Regions from separate parts of the Homo sapiens genome. Here region 1 is linked to region 2. Evidence: promoter capture Hi-C in human tissues and cell types (Jung and others, 2019). All regions are on one chromosome and are shown on one strand. Each heading gives the region's core, a stretch centred on a gene start or on the middle of the fragment in contact. The rest is flanking DNA. Distances are from core to core; before and after follow the strand shown. Region 1 has its middle 56 kb from the start of MAPK4. Region 2 holds the start of MAPK4 (mitogen-activated protein kinase 4).

Evidence for each region. Contacts are between HindIII fragments. The study calls those that stand out against the background at their distance.
Region 1: a fragment that was not itself captured here is called in contact with the fragment with the promoter of MAPK4 in region 2 in 2 of the 25 tissues and cell types used here (aorta and stomach).

The regions. Positions count from the first base shown.
Region 1 is chr18:50,502,796-50,505,495 of GRCh38, forward strand. No RefSeq gene overlaps it. Among named protein-coding and RNA genes, the nearest start is that of MAPK4, 56 kb to the right of the region's middle. The HindIII fragment of the contact is 5,262 bases long and covers 1-2,700 here.
Region 2 is chr18:50,558,679-50,561,378 of GRCh38, forward strand. It overlaps MAPK4 (mitogen-activated protein kinase 4), which reads left to right and starts at 1,409. Exons shown (of 6, transcript NM_002747.4): 1 at 1,409-1,565. The HindIII fragment of the contact is 20,188 bases long and covers 1-2,700 here.

The sequences.
Region 1 (2,700 bases), core at 194-2,693, 56 kb before region 2:
GTCCCTACCCCAACCATGCTGCCATCTCACAGATCAATCTCAGACTGCTGTGTTAGCAGTGAGCAAGGCTCCATGGGCGTGGGGCCCACAGAGCAAGGCATGGGAGAGAATCACCTTGTCTGCCAGTTGCTAAGACCTTGTGAAAGGCACAGTATTTGGGGAGGAGTGTCCCATTTTTCCAGGTAGTCTGTCATGGCTTCCCTTGGCTAGGAAAGGGAAATACCCCGACCCCTTGTGCTTCCCAGGTGAGGTGATGCCCCACCCTGCTTTGGCTTGCCGTCTGTGGGCTGCACCCACTGTCCAACCAGTCCCAGTGAGATGAATCACGTACCTCAGTTGGAAATGCAGAAATCACACCCATCTTCTGCATCGATCATGCTGGGAGCTGCAGACTGGAGCTGTTTCTATTCGGCCATCTTGGAATGCCCCCTAGATCAGTCTAGAAATACAATCTTTTTACATTGATCTTGTATTCTGCAATCTTGTTGAACTCGTTTATTACTTTTGATAGTTTTTTTTACTAGATTCTTTAGAATTTTCTATATACAAGATTATGTCATTTGTGAATAGAGATAGTTTTACTTCTTCCTGTCCAAAATGGATGGCTTTTACCTTATTTTTCTTGCCTAATTGTCCTGGCTAGAACCTCCAGTACAATGTTGAATAAATGTGGTGAGAATGGGCATCTTGTGTTGTTACAGATCTTAAGGGAAAAGAATTCAGTCTTTCACCATTAAGTATGATGTTAGCTGTGGGTTTTCCATACATGTCCTTTATCAAGTTAATGAAATTCCTTTCTATTCCCAGTTTGTTTGATGTTTTTAATCATGAAATAATGTCAGATTTTGTCAGATGCTTTCTCAGCATTAATTGAGATGATCATGTGATTTTTTCCCTTCATTCTATTAATGCAGTATATTATATTGATTGGTTTTCTTGTGTTGAACCACCTTTGCACTCCTGGGATAAATTGTACTTGGTTATGTGTATAATTTTTGCACACTGCCAGTTTGGTTTCTTAGTATTTTTGTTTACAATCTTTGCATACATATTCATAAGAGACATGGATCTGCAGTCTTTCTGTGATGCATTTGTCTTATTTTGGTATCAGAATAATTTCTGGTCAGTTTCTGGGGAACAGATCATCTCATATTCTAATTTCATGGAATGAATTAGGAAGAGTTCCTTCTTCTATTTTTTTGAATTTGAGTTTGTGAAAAGTTGGTATCAATTATACATTTGGTAGAATGTCTGCATTGATGCCATCTGTTCCTGCTTTTCTCTTTGAGTAATCTGATTTTTTGTTACTAATTCATTCTTTTCCATTATTACAGTTTTGTTCAGAGTGTCTATTTCTTCTTGGGTCAGTTTTATTAGTTTATGTCTTTCTAGGAATTTGTTCATTTCATCCAGGTTATCTAGGTTTTTGCATATAATATCATATATTTTGCATGTATTCCCTTTATAATCTTTTTTTTTTTTGTCAATCTAGCTAAAGGTTTGTTAATTTTATTGATGTTTTCAAAGAACATGCTTTTGGTATTGATTTTTATATATTGTTTTTCTCTTCCTTGTTTCATTAATTTCTATTCTAATCTTTATTATTTTCTATCTTCTCCTTGCTTTAGATCTTTCTTCAGCATCTTCAGGTGGAGGTTAGGTTGATTTGAAATCTTTCTTTTATAATATAGGCATTTATAGCTATACATGTCCCAGTAAATGTCACTTCAGCTGCATCCTGTAAGTTTTGGTATGTTGTGTTTTTATTTCATTCATCTTAAAGGAAATGGTGGGAGAGAGAAACACGATAGGAAAAAAAGTTAACATTTGTTTTTTGTTTTGTTTTGATACAGAGTCTTGCTCCGTCACCCAGGCTGGAGTGCAGTGGCACAATCTCAGCTCACTGCAACCTCCACCTCCTGGGTTCAAGTAATTCTTATGCCTCAGCCTCCCGAGTAGCTGGGATTATAGGCGTGTGCCACCATGCCCAGCTAATTTTTGTATTTAAAAGATATTTAAAACACGATAGGAAATATTTGTGTTTAAAAGACATCTTTCTTCTTTTTAATATAGGCATTTATAGCTATACATTATAATATGTATAGCTATAAATGCCTATATTTTTGGATTTTCCTTTTTATTTCTTCTTTACATAATAGTTACTTATGACTGTTATTGTTCCACATATTTTCAAATTTTCTAAATGACATTTATATTTTAATGAGTAGAATATAATAAAGGTGAGGAGACATCACTTTTGAGAATAGGTTTCAAAAGACTGTGACTTCTCTCTCGTTTGCACATGCTCTGCTTGGCTTTTCCCACTTGCTTATTCTGATAAAGCAAGCTGTCATATAATGCACCACCATATAGAGAGGCTCATGTGTCAGGAACTGAGGGCAGCCTTTGGCCAAGAGGCCAATAAGGGACTGAAGTTCTCAGTCCGATAGCTCACAAGGAGCTGAATCCTATCAACAACCATATAAATGAGCTTGGAAGTGGACCCTTCCATAGTGAGCCTTGGTTGACAGCCTGATTGCAGTGGTATAACACAGTCTGAGCCCAAGGACCCAGTCAAGGCATGCCCAGATTTCCGATTCACAGAACCTGTGAGATAATAAATGTTGTTTTAAAACCACCAAGTGTTGAGGTAATTTGTTACATAGCAGTAGATAAATAATAAGATGTAGTTGCTTCAGA
Region 2 (2,700 bases), core at 159-2,658:
TCAAGGAAGCAAAATGTTAAAATGTTCTCTTTGGGGAAGACACATTGGAATGTCTTACCACAGATATACACACACTCGCTTGTTACACACTCCTTCCTTATCCCTAACTATTCTCTGAGGTTAATGAAGGTCCTGATAACTGCAGTCTCTAACTTAGCATATCATCCTAAACCTACTACCTGCACACATAGGAGTCGCAGCGCAACTATGTACTAATGGCAGCCAACACTCATTACCCTTCATACCACCATCACTGTGCAAACCCTTAGTGCATTTTCCAATATGATCCCACAATCCTTCATTTTTATGTTTTGCCCACGCTAAAATTCGACAGCGAATTCTTGCAACAATTATTAAGCGTCTGGAATTGTATTAGGGTCTGGGGGTAGAGGTGGGGGACGAAGCGGGAATAACTGCAGTACACAGCAGACCCTATGAAAGTGCCAAAACGCAGGTCTCACTCGGAAGGCTTTGGGAGTTGGGAGAGGAGAAGGCTCATGGGCAGCTAAAGCCACCAGTGACCTCATTATGCAATATTTAGGTTATCAGACTTTTCTATGCCTAGAAAAGCAGCGCCTCAACCATTCCAACGGGACGCACCGCGTTCAGTGACGACCCTCATCGGTGCCCACAGCTCTGGGCTCGCTGAAGGCACCACAGAAGCACCAGTTATTACCAGTGTTAGGGTCCAGTGGCTTCTTCTGTCCCTTTCCTCTGGATCCCAAAGTGTTGGTTCTCTTTTGTTAGTTTTATTCCGGTCATGCCAATGAGCACAGATTCACAGCCCAGGCGGCCCGCTCGGAATCCCAGGCCGGCTGGGGACCGGTGCACTTGGGCTCCGCGCCCCCTCGACCCTCGGCCCAGTGCCCCTTCCCGCGCGCGCGGGTCTCCCCGGTTCCAGAGCCCACCGGTCCCCGCCGGCTCCTTCTCCCCACCCACCCTCCCACCGGGCCCCCGGCGGCTGCAGCCGCGCGGGGCTGGCGGGGCGGCGACCGGGCTCAGGCAGATCCCCGCTTCCCGCCTTCTCGGCGCCCCCTCCCTCCCGGACGGAGCCCGAGGATCCCCCACCCACGGCGGGCGTGAGGAAGGGCTTCTGAGTGACTGGAGCTCTACCGCGTGTGCCCCGGGAAGGCCAGGCTACCCGGGACGGGGCTCGGCTCCCCAGGTGAGCTCGTCTCCGCGGGACTGGGTCCGGGAAGGCCCCAGGACCGCGCGGCTGAGCGGCCTGGAGGCTGCGGGAGGGCAGAGCAGGGCGCGCGGGAGACTGCCGCCCCCGGGCGCCCAGGGCCCGGCTCCCCAGCGCCACCGCCGCAGCAGGTGGGGGCCCAGTGGGCGGGGGCGGGGCCCGGCTCTGGGCGGAGCCGAGGCGGCGGCGGCGCAGGCTGGGGCCGGGGCCGGGGCGGGAGCCGGAGCCCGAGCTGGAGCAGCGAGCCGGGCTGTCGGGGCGACCGCGGGAGCTCGCCGTGCGCCGTGGCTGGGACCGGCCTGGCCGAGCGCGCCGGCGCCGCGGCCGCAGACAAAGGGCGGCTCGCGCCCGGGCCGCCACGCTCTCGGGCTCTGCCTCGGTAAGTGGCTCCCCTCCGCTGGCTTTCTCCTCCCGCCGCCTGCGCCTCTCGGAGTTCGGCGGGCTCCGGAGAAGCGGGGAAGAGATGAGACTTCCCCGCCCGCACTGCCTCCCCACCTTACCCTAACAATAAGCCCCCCAGGCCAAGCCACTGCCAAACTAGCGAGTTTCCGAGCGGCGGGGGTCTCCCGCGGGACCCGCCCGGCTGCCCTGGGTGAGCTCCTCGCCTGCAGACCGCGCGCCGGTGCTGTCCTGGACCCGTTTGGGATGGGAGGTTGCCGCTGGGCTCCTCGCGTTGTGTTTAGGGGAGGAGGACGCAGGGGCCGGGCGCCGCTAGGGGACCCCACCCCCGGGGACAGTCCGGAGCGCTTGGGGTCGCCGAGGGGCAGTTCACACTGCGAGTTCAGATTCGGATCGCAGTCCCGATTATCCTCCCCTCCAGCCTCTCCCTTTCTCGTTGAAGGGTTAATACAGCGTCCTCTCCCCTCGCCACCCGACAGAGGCGCCTACACTGGCGGTAGGTAGCCCCTGGGAGAGGGGGAGTGGGGGGACCCCGCCGCTTTCGCCGCTGGGCGACCCAGAGCCCCAGCCTGCCGGAGAGGGCAGCGGCTCGGGTTTGACATCCCAGCTGGGTCCCGGGCCGGCTCCCTGAGCCTCCTCCCGGGTTGCTCTCTATCAGGAAAGCAATCGGAAGTCAGGCCGGCTTTTGCTTTTGTTCTGCCAGCTACTCTACGGAATCGTAGGTGAAGCCGGGGTGGGCGGATGCCCCGGGAGGGGGCTGTGGCGGGAGTTCCAGGTGCGTCCCCGAAATGACCATTGGAGGCGGCGGCTGTTTCCCGCCCCTGGGTGGGGAATGGATTCCGATCGCTAATCGATACCCTGGAGCCAGCAGTGGGTCAGCAGCGTCCCGACAGAGCGCAGCGGCCGCGTACTGTCACGCGCCTCTCCAGCACTCTCGAAAGCACTACCTCGAGACGTGCATTTCCATTCATGGATCTGTGCCTGGGGGTTGATTAATGTCACCCCTGCCTGGGTTGAGGAGTGTCCACAACTGCTCAGTAGCCATTTACTGGGAGGTTACTGTGTGCAAGGCAGCTATCTTAAATAACCTTAATGTAAAATATACTTATTGAGCA